2 separate regions of the Homo sapiens genome follow, and region 1 is linked to region 2. The links are contacts of gene promoters, found by promoter capture Hi-C in human tissues and cell types (Jung and others, 2019). All regions are on one chromosome and are shown on one strand. The core of a region is centred on a gene start or on the middle of the fragment in contact, and the rest is flanking DNA. Distances in the headings are between cores, read along the strand shown. Region 1 overlaps SLC4A5 (solute carrier family 4 member 5). Region 2 holds the start of MTHFD2 (methylenetetrahydrofolate dehydrogenase (NADP+ dependent) 2, methenyltetrahydrofolate cyclohydrolase).

What was found. Contacts are between HindIII fragments. The study calls those that stand out against the background at their distance.
Region 1: a fragment that was not itself captured here is called in contact with the fragment with the promoter of MTHFD2 in region 2 in 2 of the 25 tissues and cell types used here (adrenal gland and mesenchymal stem cells).

Annotation. Positions count from the first base shown.
Region 1 is chr2:74,268,628-74,276,300 of GRCh38, reverse strand. All of the region lies in intron 8 of SLC4A5 (solute carrier family 4 member 5), which reads left to right. Among named protein-coding and RNA genes, the nearest start is that of SLC4A5, 71 kb to the left of the region's middle. The HindIII fragment of the contact is 3,848 bases long and covers 1,673-5,520 here.
Region 2 is chr2:74,196,948-74,204,392 of GRCh38, reverse strand. MTHFD2 (methylenetetrahydrofolate dehydrogenase (NADP+ dependent) 2, methenyltetrahydrofolate cyclohydrolase) reads right to left here and starts at 5,778. Exons shown (of 8, transcript NM_006636.4): 1 at 5,651-5,778. The coding sequence starts at 5,751. RefSeq lists silencers at 5,020-5,109, 5,240-5,519, 5,710-5,849 and an enhancer at 5,558-6,116. The HindIII fragment of the contact is 7,235 bases long and covers 2,472-7,445 here.

The DNA.
Region 1 (7,673 bases), core at 2,347-4,846, 74 kb before region 2:
TAAAGAGCTTATGATCTAGTACAGGTATCAGCAAACATGTTCAGTTAATGGCCAGACAGAAAATATTTTAGGCTTTTTGTGCACAGATGATCTCTTCCCCTGTCCTTTTATTTCCCCTCCTCTCCCCGCTCCTCTTCTCTTTTTCTCTCCTTCTCCTCTCCTTTCTCTCTTCTGCCTACTCTTTCTCCTTCTTTACAATGCTTTAAATATATAAAAACCATGCTTAGCTAGCTGGCCATACAAAAACAGGCTGTGGGGTGCTTGGAGCCCATGAGACATGATATTTCAACCCCAATCTGGTATAAAGCAGGCATGTGCTCATACACACAGCTAACTAAAACCCAGGGTGGTATGTGCAAAGTGGTGAGAACAGGCTCTAGAATCTAAAGACATGCCTTCAAACCCTGTCTCTTATGAGCTGCATGACCTTGGGCAGGCTCCTCATCCTCTAAGGGTCTCAGTCTCCTCACCTGTACAATGAAATAGTCACAGACCTACCTCATGAGACAGATTTAAGGATTAAATGAGATAATACCTGTTAAGTGCTTAGCATAGTGCCTGGCACATAGAAAGCCCTCAGTAAGCTTTAGCTGTTGTCGTGATTAGGAAGTGTTATGTGATAAATGATAAAAAGTGTGATGCGAGTTAGAGGAAAGAGAGGTCTCCTCAACCTTGGCCCTTGGGAAGGCATTGTCTTCCCAACTGGGAAGGAGAGGTGACTTTTGAACTTGGCCCAGAATAGCAGAGGTGGAAGAGAGTGCCTAGGTGAGGAGAGGGCCTCTCCTGAGAGGCAGTGAAGGGAGGTACCAGCAGACTCTGAGGGAGGCAGACCACTGCGTAGATGACAGTCCCATGGGGCAATTACAGGGACTTCCTGGATACACAGACAAGTGGCCCTCAGAGAGGTTTTGGTTCCAGAAGCCTCTCCTTGAAGGAGCCCATTCAGAATTTTTCAGTAACTTTGTCTGATGACATTCACTTAGCTGTGGGCTCTCCTTCAACCCTGAATGAGGACATGGTGTGCAGGAGGATGGACCCTTCACCAAATGCATGAGCTTGGGAGCAGAGGCCACCCCCATTCCATTCACCACAGCTCCCTCGAATGCCACACCTCTGCCCCATCACCACCAGCTGTGCCACTGCAGTTCATCACTGTCTGGGAAGGAGTGTTTCTCCTGTAATGCCCAAACTGTACTGCATCACCAAAGGCCCTCAGCGGAGGTTCCTAGGCCACCAAAAGGAAAGACTTTCATTCAAAGGGAATCAGTCAGCCATGGGAGGAAGTGGGGTTCATTGCAGAACAATCTAAGACAGAAGGCCCTATCAATCTGATCCTAGTCCTAGACATATCTCATGAGTAGAGATGAAAGATCATCCTAAGTCTATTAAACACTGGAATCACTTAACTAATGATTAACTCATTCTGATTCTATATTCAGCAACTTTTTGGTGATAATTTGGCTTACCCTGTATATCTGCCCATGAGGAGAGAATGCAAAGGCTAGAGGATGAACATAACAAACCCCTATAACGATTGTAAATCTCACTGTAAATTAAATAAATTGGCCTTCAGGTTTATGCATCAGCCTTTGTGATCTTGGTTAGCATTAGACAGTGTCACTGGACCTAATCATCTTTGGGACACTAAAAAGATAAAATTTCTGAGCCTGGACCGGGGTGGGTGCCCCAAGAGGCCTGTGAGGCCTTTCTGGTGCTCATCAGCCCCTTCTGGTAGCTTCTGAACTTCTCCATATGTGTGCTGACCCTTGACCCATGCCTGCCCCCTCAGTCTTTTATACTTTATAATCTTTCAAATTTACTGCCAAGTTTGGTTTATTAACATATACATGGTATGCAAAGTCATAATCCGTTGTAGAAACAACTTGTTGTACTATCTCACATACATATTTTCATGCATGTGATTTTATGTAGCATGAATTAGCCAAATAAATTGTAAGAATGGGCCAGAATTTGCTTAGGTGTTTCTCCCGTTTTTTTGAGACAGAGTCTTGCTCTGTTGCCCAGGCTAGAGTGCAGTGGCACCATCTCAGCTCACTGTAACTTCCGCCTGCTGGGCTCAAGTGATTCTCCTGCCTCAGCCACCTTGGGCAGGCTCCTCATCCTCTAAGGGTCTCAGTCTCCTCACCTGTACAATGAGAATAGTCACAGACCTACCTCGTGAGATAGATTTAAGGATTAGATGAGATAATACATGTTAAGTGCTTAGCATAGTGCTTGGCTGGGAGTAGCTGGGATTACAGGCATGCACAACCACGCCTGGCTAATCTTTGTATTTTTAGTACAGACAGGGTTTTGCCATGTTGGCCAGGCTGGTCTCAAAACTCCTGACCTCAAGGGATCTGCCTGCCTTGGCCTCCCAAAGTGCTGGGATTATAGGCGTGAGCCACCAGGCCCGGCCTCAGGTGTTCCCCTTTTGAAAAATCTTCCTTCCACAGATCATTTTTTAGTGCCTCTGTCAAAGACTGAACCAGGGGAGTATCTGATGATTCCTCAGACATCTCTAGGAAAATTCTTAACGGGCTTCTAAGTGAATTAATACTGGTCTTCAGTATCTGTTGGGAAATTCAGTATCCTGATATGACTCATATGAAGTTAAAAAACTTTGCTGGATATTGAAGGAAAACTTACATTTCTTACTTTTAAGAAATGAATTTGTTGGAGTTACAAAATGTATTACAGGCCTTAGGCAGAAAGCACAAACATGTCTTGATGCTTTGTAACTAATACACAGAAGTCAAGCTTTTGGGTAATGGGGCGGGGTGGGAGAGTTACAGAATAAAGTTGGTGAGGCCACATAGATAGAGTGACCACAGGGATATATACTTTACAAATTTTAGCTGAGTAAACTTCATGAAAGAAACAAATTCACACAAATGTAATTCTTAAAACAAATGTTTGGAGGCAACATAGCCTTAGCATTAAAGGTTACATACATTGGGAGATTACATTTTTTAAATTAGAATGTCCTAGGGGGGATTTTGCAAACAAACTAACCAAGACACTATTTAATTATAATGATATTCAAAATAGTATAGATAGAAGCTTCTCTTCAATCACAATGTTTATGTATATTCTCCAGATTTTACTCTTATCTAACTACACATAATGGGCAGCCTGTTGTTTTATCATCTCAAGGATCTGTGTCTTCCTTTTAAAAAATATTGATGTCTGATTGTCAGTCCCCTGAGATTCTGATGTAATTAGTCTGAGATTCAGCCTGGGTTTTAGAATTTGTAAAAAGCTCCCAGATGATCCTAATGCAGCCATTGAAAACTGCTGATACTTACTCTAGCCCAGCAGGATCAGTGGGAGTTACGAAGTTTCCATCTGAGGAGACAACTAGAATAGAGGTCTCTTGGTTTTCAGCCCTTTCCAGATCCTCCTTGAAGGAGAACCTCCTCTTCTCCCATCCTGTGGTTTGAGCATTGGAAGCCTTGACTGTACCTGGTAGCTAGCGCCATGATGCTTTCTCCTGCTCTTGTTATTAATTGAACAGCAATGTCCTCTAATTATATCTCTGACCGAGTTACTAGGCACAGAAAAGGCCTCAGTTCTGGCCCTGCTTTGTGTGACAGAGAGCTGCTTTCTGTGACAAGTGACATTTCAAGGTTCCTTTTAGCTACATTCCAGTCAGGAGCGGGGCACCTGGTGCCCACCCTGGCATGCAGAGTTGGGGGTCTACACCCAAGCTTGGGCAAAATCCCTAAAAGTTAAAGCTTTGCTGGATAATGAAGGAGAACGTGGAGATTTTCTTTCCACTTGACCTGCTTCCCCAACTCTAATACCCCACTTTTTGAAGCCAACCATGGTACACAGTTCACTTTGCAATGAGTTGTTTGGGATTACACATGAACCTTATTATCAGGCTTTTGCAAGTTTTTAAACTTGGCTTTGACCAGAGGCTTTTTACAGAGGCCATTCCTTTATTCATTCTGGAGAATGTTTAAGGATTTTATTATGGAAAATTCAAATTTATACAAAAGTAGTATATAGCAGAATGAACCCCCACCTGCCCATCACCCAGCTTCAACAGTTAACAGCTAACTCATAGCAATTCTTGTTTCTCTGTCCCCCACCTACTACCCCAGACACACAGACACACATGCTAGGTCAGGTTGACACAAATCCCAGACACCACATCATTCCATCTGTAAATATTTCATTATGTCTCTAAAAGATAAGGCCTCTTTCTTTCTTTTTAGAGATAGGGTCTTTCTCTGTCACTTCAGCTTCATTGCAGTGGTGCGATCACAGCTCACTGCAGCCTCAAACTCCTGGACTTAATCCTCCTACCTCAGCCTCCTGAGTAGCTGGGACTACAGGCATATGCCACCACACCTGGCTAATTATTTTATTTTTTGTATAGTGGAGTCTTGCTTTGTTTCTCAGGCAGGTCTCAAGCAATCCTCCCACCTCAGCCTCCCAGAGCGCTGGGATTACAAGTGTGAGCCACCATGCCCGGCTTCTGAGTATTTTTAAATATACTTAAACAAAATGAGTTTTAAGCTTTTTTTCCCCAGTCATTTCCTCATAGCGAGATCTCACCCAAAGTGATCAGTGAGGTCTTGCTACCCTCAAGCAGAAGGGAGCAAGCATTTAATGCAATTGATCTGGGCAGGAGACCATAAGGGGACACCAGAGAGGAAGAAATGGCACCTGTCTTCAAAAAGCTTAATGTATATTTGGCATTTGTTATATACCAAAACAATCATAAAACATGATTGGCTACAATTAATTATTAATTTAGGCACTGAGCCTGAATTAATTAATTATTTTAGGCTCTGAGCCTAAGAAGTTAGAAACTTTACCTAGGATAGTCTGGAGCACAGAGTTGCCTGGATCCCACCCGTTTTTATTCTGATGTCAACTGGTCTAGGATATGACTGAGACATGAAGATTTTAAAGGCATCTAGGGTATTCTTATATGCAAGCAAGCTTAAGAATCACTGTCCTAGAACAGTGGTTTCTAAAGTGCTTCAGGTTGAGAACCATCCTAGGGTGTTATAGGAGAAATAAGCAGAATAACTGGCAGAGGCTTTGTGGAGGAAGGGGCATTCTCGCTGGGCAGTGGAAAACAGAGAGGAAAGAGGACATTCTACATGATCTCAGAGGTGATCTGCAGACCAGCAGCATGAGCACACCTAGGAGCTTATTAGAAATGTAGAATCTTTGACCTCATTCCAGACCTGCTCAATGAGGATCTGCATTTTGACAAGATCCCCATGCACATTAGAGTTTGAGGCACACTGGTGTAGTAGAATATGTACTGTAAATGGACTTCAGTTATAAAATCAGAGAAACTAAAGCATAGCATGACTGTGCTAGAAAGGAGACCCTTTCAGCTAGTGTTCTTGGAGCCATTCTAAGGGAAAGAGGCCATGTCCTGCTGTATAATGAGAATCAGATCCATGTGAGCTACGTTTGCCTGCGTTGGGACCCCATATAAGTTGAACTATCCCTAAGTCACACCATTCTATGTACCTACAGAGCAGGGGCTCCTGAACCCACAGGGTGCAGTCAGATAACCCGGGAGTTTCCATGGCAGGGTCACCCTCCTGGTGGGGTAACCATCCAGGCATTGGTTTTTGTTTTGTTTTGTTTTGTTTTGAGACGGAGTCTCGCTCTGTCATCCAGGTTGGAGTGCAGTGGCATGATCTCTGCTCACTGCAAGCTCCGCCTCCCGGGTTCACGCCATTCTCCTGCCTCAGCCTCCTGAGTAGCTGGGACTACAAGCGCCTGCCACCACGCCTGGCTAATTTTTTGTATTTTTAGTAGAGACAGGGTTTCACCATGTTAGCCAGGATGGTCTCGATCTCCTGACCTCGTGATCCGCCTGCCTCTGCCTCCCAAAGTGCTGGGATTACAGGCATGAGCCACCGCGCCCAGCCCCAGGCATTGGTATTTTTATAAATCTCTCCAAGTTATTCTAATGGACAGCCAAGGTTGAAAACCATTGCTATGGATCTTTGGTCCTCCATGTTTCCTTTTCCATTCAAGGTGAAAGTGAGCTAAATTTCTAGCTGTAGCCATTGAAAACACAAAATTAAGTTCCAGGTAGCAAGCTTAATGGTTCAACATCTGGATTCCCAAAATAGTTATAGAGGGGACTAGAGCGGTGTCCCTAGTTAAATGGTCTCATATTCCGGAATTTCTTAAATCAAATTTTCTGGATTCTGGTAGCAGAGTCTAGTTCTGGCATTGGCTTAAAATTGGAGACAAGTAATTTAGTGTTTATGCAGGCTATTCTCATGTGGGTTATCGCCCTTGTCTGTGTGTCTATGGGGTTAATGTTTGGTGTATGCCTAACACAGTACAAATAGTTGAAGTCCTGAGAGGTGGAGAGGACTGCATGTCTTTGCTATCTGCTATCTGGAGTTAGTAGAGGATGTTTCAAAGAGGAAGCATTGCTCTTATCACTCCTTCAGGTGGAGTTGCATTTGTATGGGCAGAAGACTGAAGAATGGGATGTCAGGGGAGAGAGCTGCCTGAGACTGTCTGGCCTAGGATGTTTGTGAGACAGTGAAGACAGCAACCCACTCAACTGGCCCCATGCACTGGGCCACATCACACCTTTAGGTGGGTGGGTAAGACCATGGAGTAGCAAAAGAGTCTTTGGGAGCAGGGTGACAGTTCAGTTTATCTTTTGTATTATTTTTGAGAAAAAAAAAACAATAAAAGGCAAGCTGAATAGGAGGTCGATCCTCAGGAAGAAAAGTTGAGCATCCTCTCAACTAAAACATTTGGACTGGCCGGGCGCGGTGGCTCACGCCTGTAATCCCAGCACTTTTAGAGGCGGAGGTGGGTGGACCACCTGAGGTCAGGAATTTGAGACCAGCCTGACCAACATAATGAAACCCTGTCTCTACTAAAAAACAAACAAACAAACAAACAAACAAACAAAAAACAAACAGCCGGGCCTGGTGGCAGGCACCTGTAATCCCAGCTACTCAGGAGGCTGAAACAGGAGATCACTTGAACCACGGAGGCAGAGGTTGCAGTGAGCCAAGCTTGCACCATTGCACTCCAGCCTGGGCGATGAGAGTGAAACTCCGTCTCAAAAAAAAAAAAATTTTGAACTTATCCTTTGGTCTATTCCTTGTAAACTCTTATGTTAATATACCTTTTAGAAACATCTTACTTTCGATATCACATAGTCTTGGATCTGCCATAATTTAAATGATATTTCCCAAACAGATTTCTCCACAAAAAGGTCAGCTACAACTTGTCTGCCTGGTCTCTGGCTCCAGCCCCCATGTTTCAGGTCTTCACCTCCCAGTCCTTCTCTAATTAGATCTCCCCATTCTGTGTCCATCTGATTCCCCAGGATCCCACCAGGTGCCTGGTTAACTTGTCTCAAATAAATGTATGGAATGAAGGTGTTAAACATAGATAATGCAAAATATACAGTTACGTGAAGAGGAAATCTGATGAAGGAAAAGATGTTCAATCTCACTAGTAATCAGAAGAGTGCAAATGTGAGATAATTTTTCAACTACCAAATGAACAAAGGTGAAAAAGAATGAAAATACCAAAGTCTGGGAGACTTTAGGGAAATGTAAGATCTCATTGGTGGCAGTGGGCACTGACATAAGCTTTCTGGAAAACAGTTTGGTAATGCTTGTTATAAATGTAAAAATGTGCAGACACAGTAA
Region 2 (7,445 bases), core at 4,529-7,028:
GAAGAACCTCCAGTTCCCAAAACCATGTTCAGCTGCCCGAAAGGCTGTCTCTTCCCAAAGAGAACTGCTTATGCAACTCTTCCTGGGTTCCATGAAACCCAAATGTGGAAGAGTCCCAGTTTTCCTATTTTCACACATGTCCTTACAGTAAAGTGCCCATTACTTAAAGATGAGCATCTGGCCCAGCGTGGTAGCTCAAGCCTGTAATCCCAGCACTTTAGGAGGCCGAGGAGGGTGGATTGCTTGAGGTCAGGAGTTCCAGACCAGCCTGGTCAACATGGCAAAACCCCGTCTCTGCTAAAAATACAAAAATTAGCCAGGCATGGTGGTGCGCGCCTATAATCCCAGCTACTCAGGAGGCTGAGGCAGGAGAATTGCTTGAACCCAGGAGGCAGAGGTTACAGTGAGCTGATATCACCCCACTGCACTCTAGCCTGGGCGACAGAGAAAGACTGCATCTCAAAAAACTAAACTAAACTAAACTAACTAAACTAAACTAAACTAAACTAAACTAAACTAAACTAAACTAAACTAAACTAAACTAAACTAGATGAGCATCTCTTCCTTAAGTAAAATGATCCCATTAAAAAAAGCCTTTCCCTTTAGATCTCTGTCCTTGGTGTCATGAAGACTGCTCTAACCTCAAGACCAATGAAGTAATCTCCTCTTATATTCTAAAACCTAACATCAAGGTACTGAATATCCTGTAGGGTCAGATAAAATTAATTCTCAAGATAACTGCTAATTTATTTATTTATTTTTTTTGAGACAGAGTCTTGCTCTGTTGCCCAGGCTGGAGCAATCTCAGCTCACTGCAGCCTCCCAAGTTCATGCAATTCTCCAGCTTTTGCCTCCATAGCTGAGAATACAGGCACCCACCACTGCACCCGGCCAGTAACTGCTAATTTAAATGGGATTTTAAAGCTTTCACAATCTTTAGGCCTTCAATAAGTGTTTTTTATTGCATTATGATTAAATACCAACTTTAAACCAAATCTCAACATCTTAGATATAATGCAATAATCTTATATATAAACTTTATCTTAATCTGTATTGCATCTTGTGAAGTATTAAATTATTATAATCTGGCCAGGCACGGTGGCTCATGCCTGTAATCCTAGCATTTTGGGAGGCCAAGGTGGGCAGATCACTTGAGGTCAGGGGTTTGAGACCAGCCTGGCCAACATGGCAAAACCCCGCCTCTACTAAAAATACAAAAATTTGCCAGGCATGGTGGCAGGACCCTGTAATTGTAATCTCAGCTACTCGGGAGCTGAGGTAGGAGAATATCTCGAACCCAGGAGGCATAGGTTGCAGTGAGCCAAGATCACGCCACTGCACTCCAGACTGTGTAACAGGGCAAGACTCCATCTCAAAAAAAGAAAAAAGTTACAATCTTACAGCAAATCAAATACTTTTACCCTGATTTTATATAATACTAGCATGGCACAACATATAATAGCATTTAATTATACCCATGGTATATGAAGAAATTGAAAACATATTAATATTCACAATTCCATTTCAGAATTAGAGTCGAAGAGGACTTCATTAAAAGGGTTTTGCAGGCCGGGCATGGTGGCTCACATCTGTAATCCCAACACTTCGGGAAGCCAAGGTAGGCAGATCATGAGGTCAGGAGATTGAGACCATCCTGGCTCATATGGTGAAACCCCGTCTCTACTAAAAATACAAAAAATTAGCCGGGCATGGTGGCACGCACCTGTAGACCCAGCTACTTGGGAGGCTGAGGCAGGAGAATCGATTGAACCCGGGAGGCAGAGGTTGCAGTGAGCAGAGACTGCCGTGAGCGGAGATCGTGCCACTGCACTCCAGCCTGGGCAACAGAGTCAGACTCCATCTCAAAAAAAAAAAATTAAAATAGGGGGGTTTTGCTGATACAAATACACCTGGCAACATTCCTCATTCCTGATTTGTATTAGTACCTGGAATGCCCACCGCAGGCCAAAAATACATTCCTAATCCTGGAACACTACAGAGTGAAAGACTACTTTAAAACGGCTTAGAACAGTCATTTATGTTGAATGAAATAACAAACATATATAATGTGCCAGGCATATATGTTCAATAAAACTAATTTCTTACTCTTTTCTCTTGGTTTTATATATATATGTATATATACACACACATACACATGTATCCTTAAAATAGATACACTTACACATAAGGAGATATATATAAGTATATACACTATATGTATATCTAGTCAGTGAGAATGACTTAGCTTGCACCTCATAAAAAGTTTCTTTTGAAAGCAGTAAACTTAGAGAAAATGGTATTAGCACATTCAGATAAAATCATATACTGAAGTTAAGGACACAGGGTTCTGGGAAAAGCCAGTGTTCCAAGTCCCAAACTTTGCTTCCAAAAGCAGGTTCTGGATGTTATGCCAATTTGCTTAAAAAAAAAAAAAGAAAAGAAAGAAAAACAGTCAAAGAGTAACAAGAACCAAAAACAAAGTCACATGCAATGAATATCTTTCATAGTATAACTGTCAGCCCTCCTCTGCTTCCCACAACTCTGCAAAATGTGAAATACAGCCTTGGGAGTGAGTCATTAACTAATTTAGCATCATCTCTTTTGCCAAGGGGCAGATTAACTGCTACCCCAAAATAAACAGGGAAATGGAGAGTCAGCTAAGTCCCACGGGGAATCCAAAATTGTAACTATATTAGCTAACATTTATCCCAGAATTAAATGCATTCACAGATGTGTTTAGAAAAAATTCCCAGGGCTGGGCATGGTGGCACAGGCCTTGTAATCCCAGCATTTTGGGAGGCCAAGTTCAAGACTAGCGTGGGCAACATGGTGAGACCCCATCTCTACTAAAAGTTAAAAAAAAAAAAAATTAGCCAGGCATGGTGGTATGCTCCTGTGGTCCCAGTTACTCACAAGCTGAGGTGGGAGGATCACTTGAGCCCAGGAGGTCAAGGCTGCAGTAAGCCGTGATTGCAGCACTGCACTCCAACCTGACCTAGGGAGAGATTCCCCTGCCAAAAAAGAAAAAAAAAAAGGAAAGAAAAAAATCCCATTAAGATAGGTAATCAACAGAATAGGAAGAAGTCAAGAGGACTGTTCAAATAAAATCCAAAACTGTGGCTCATGCCTGTAATCCCTGCATTTTGGGAGGTCAAGGTGGGTGGATCATTTGAGGTCAGGAGGTCGAGACCAGCCTGGCCAACATGGTGAAACCCTGTCTCTACTAAAAATACAAAAATTAGCAGGGCATGGTGGTGTGCGCCTATAGTCCCAGCTGTTTGGGAGGCTGAGGTAGGAGAACAGCTTGAACCCAGGAGGCAGAGGTTGCAGTGAGCCAAGATTGCACCATTGCACTCCAGCCTGGGCAACAAAGTAAGACTCCGTCTCAAAAAATAAAATAAAATTCAAAACTAAAATCCAAGTGAGTAGCATCTTCACTTTCCTTTTAATTCAATAGCTTACAGTACTGTAATTTTCCATGAGAAATTAGTATCAGGACATTTTACAATTCATAATCAAGTGATTTAGGGAAGAGTTGTTATCAATTATTAATGGGAAAAATAATGAGTGAAGGAAGACATAATGGAGAAAGGAACAAACATCTATTAAACACTAGGTGTTTTGCTTACACTTTAACATATATTACTCTGTTACCTTGGGACTATTATAATAACACTGTAATACAGAAGATGAAACTGAGGATAGTAGAAACAAGATTCAAAGGCAAACTTCTGCCTCTAAAGTCCATTGACTTCCTAATCCCACTGTCTCCTAGGCTACTATTTCTCCAACCATAGGTTTATGTTCCTGAAACTCTCATACCATCCAACAAAGAAAAAAAAAAAAAGAATGCAGACTCATATTTTTAAAAGGATACAACTTTTTAAAAATAAGCAGTATTTAAAAATAAACAGTATTTTAAAAAATAAGCAGCAGTAAGAAAGCAATATGTGGGAATTGTAAATAGCAAATGTGCAGTACAGATAATATGGATTGCTTTCAGAGATGTGGATGAAGCTTACTTGTTCTTTCAGAAAGGTAGTGAAAAGAGCATTTGTTATTGGAGAGTGTAGACAAACTGGCCCAGTTCTTTAGGTAATGAATGAGAGCATCTTTATAAATCTCTTTTGGACCATGGAAGCCTAGGAAAGGTCTGGTCCACAGTCACATGAGGCCAGCACTCAGGAAGAGGGAGAAGGGGAGAAAACACACAGTAACGAAACATGGGGGAGGTCAAGAGTCAGACCAGGGAAAACCCTGAAAGTCCCCTCCCACGTTTTCCTTCAAGAACTCATTGCTCCAACAAGCAGCGCCTTTGAAATATTTCTAACAGCATTTCCGCACTGACTGGAAATTACACGCGTGTTCTGCCCCTTGTCAGGAACATGAGCTCCATTAAGAACAGTTTTTCTCATCTTTGAATTCGCACAGCTTGGCATAGTGTCTGGTACACAGTGAACGTTAGATGAAAAAAAGAAGGGGCTGATGTTGTAAGGTGCAGGGCTCTAACAATGCCAACAATGCCAGCGCTCTAATGACCGACCAAATCACCTTCCCAAGGAAACCCAAAAATGCAAACAGAGCTTTTCCTTTCCTCCTCCCCTGTATATTTTTCCCAATTTTGTTATTGTGGTAAAATTCACATAACATAAACCTTATCAACTTTTTTTTTTTTTTTTTTTTTTGAGACAGGGTCTCGCTCTGTCGCCCAGACTGGAGGGCAGTGGTGCAATCACGGCTCACTGCAGCCTCGAACTCCTGGGCTCAAGCGATTCTCGTGCCTCAGCCTCGGCGCGTGTCACCACGCCCGGCCCATCTTAACCATTTTTAAGTGCAGTTCAGTGGTATTAAATACGTTCATATGTTGTGCAACCATCACCACCATCCATCTTCAGAACTCTTCATCTTGTAAAACTGAAATTCTGCAAGTACCGCTGAAATATGGGTACTTGTCACTCTCCATTCCCCCTTTCCCTAAGGCCCTGGGAGCCTCCCGGATGTTTGCCACCTCTATGTACGCAGCCCGGCACTGACAGGCTCTGGTGGGCTGCAGCCAAAGCTAGGGTGCCCAGAGTCCGTTCATGTTCCTGGCAGAGCGGAGGCAGCGCGGGCCACTCCCACCGGCGGAGGGAGGAGGGCGGCGCGGGGACCCCGAGCAAGTCGGCTCCGCGATTTCATCAGCTGCAGCAGCGCCCTCCGCCGCTAGGGTCCCCGCAAGGACAACTCGCCGAGGGCTGCTCTTTTGGAACCCTCGCCTGTTCTCCCCCAGACGACTCTCAGCATCCCAGCCAGAGGCGGCCGGCGCTGTCGGAAGGCTCCGCGTAAACTGATGCCTTCGCGTTCCGCACGCCACCCCCGTCCCGCCCGCCGACTGGCCACGGGCCCCGGCGACGCCCCGAGTCGCAGGAGAGCGGCTCCCTCCGAAAGGCGGGCTTCGGGTACCAGCCCTCCGCGCCGAGGAAGCGCCCCAGTCGAGAGCTGCGGCGGCGCTCGGTGCCACGTCGCCCCGCCACACCCCTCAGCGGCCACCACCGCCGGGGCGGAGATGTTCGGGAAGGACTTCCCTCGGTGTCCCTCGGGGGCCCGGCGTGCCCCTCGCCCTCCGTTCCCCTCAGCTTTCCGCGCTGACCGAGCTCTGTGACCCTCTTACCGAACTGCCGCGAGGTGGAAAGGGCGAAGGCGAAGGGAGCAGCTGTGCGCGGGCTGCAGCAGCCGGGCAGCCAAAGCAGACATTAGAGAAGTCGCAGCCATAGACCGCGCCGGTGACTGCGCCGGGAGGGAAGCGCGCGCGCGGGCCACGCGGTTATACTGCGGCCTCGTGGCAGGCCCCGCCTCCCTCCGCCACCCATTGGTCCCTGCCGCATGCCACTGGCTGTCTGTTGAGCCAGGTGGAGCCGAAGGGGCCAACCGGTTTTCTTTATTAAACGTAAGCGAAGTCCGAAAGAGCCCTGCTTTTGATTGGAGCCAGAAGAGCCTGGAGCGAGGTCCTGTAAGGCGCTGAAGCCTCGGCAACGTGCCATGATAGGCTGAGGAAGTCAAACTCCTGCCTGACGCCGCTAGTGTCACCGAAGGCCGGACAACACAAGAGAAAAGTTCATTCATTCATTCGTTGAACAATTATATGAGCGCCTACTGTGTGCCAAGCACTGTAAAGGGTGGATGAAAAGACAAGCTGATAGAATGCCAACGAACAGAAGTAAAAGGAATGATGGAGTTAGAAAATCACCATTTTCCAAAATCAGTACATGGTGGCGCGTGACTACAGTACCAGCTACTGGGGAGGCTGAGGTGGAAGGATCACCTGAGTTCAGGAGGTTGAGGCTGCAGTGAGCTGAAGGCGCGCCACTGCACTCCAGCCTGGGCGACGAGAGTGAGACCATATCTCAAAACAACAACAAAAAAAGTAAAATCATAAAAGATATTCAGAGACAGACGTCAGGGTTGCATGTGCAACCCTGATTCAGAAGCAGCAATAGATGTCAAAACAACTGGGTGAAAGTTGGATGAGGAGCAAGATATTTACATATAGGGTTGCCAGATCTAGCAAATAAAAACACAAGATGCCCAATCAAATCAGAATTTTAGATAAACACTTTGGGAGGTCATATTTATACTTTATTTATGGCTTATCTGGAATTCAGATTCAACTGGGCTTCCTGTATTTTTTCCCGCAAACTTTTTGCATAGTCTCAAAGTATCTCTCCCGCAAGGAAACTTAAGGAGGGCAGGGCGCGGTGGCTCACTTCTGTAATCCCCAGCTCTTTGGGAGGCCAAGGCGGACGGATCACCTGAGGCCAGGAGTTCGAGACCAGCCTGGCCAATGTGTTGAAACCCCCGTCTCTACTAAAAACACAAAAAATTATCTGAGCATCGTGGCGGACGCTGTAATCCCAGCTACTGGGGAGACTGAGGCATGAGAATCGCTTGAATCTGGGAGGCAGAGGTTGCAGGGAGCCGAGACTGTGCCACTGCACTTCAGCCTGGGCAACAAAAAGACTCTGTCTCAAAAAACAAAACAAACAAACAAAGAACAGGGGAAACCAATCCTGTCAACACCTTGACCTTTACTTCTAGCCTCCAGGAAGGAAAGGAAAATGGTAAATTTACAGTGAAGAAACATGACAGTTACTGCTTCAACCACGTGATCAAAGTTAGCACCACCCAGTAAGGGAACACACATATATGCCTTCTGATAGGATCCATTGAGGAGACACATCACTTCGTAGCTCTTAACAAGTCTGTAAATTTAATAAGGTGATTTTCCTAAACCAATGAGTCTCCTAAAAACGGTTACAGATTCCTCATTTCACATTGAGAAGAAAGATCACAGACCTAGAATGTTAAAACTGTCCAGGAAAAAAAACAGTTGTAAAGCTTTGGAACACACTAGTAGATCTTAATCTATTCACAAGGAAATATCAGACAAGCCCAAAGTGAGAGATATT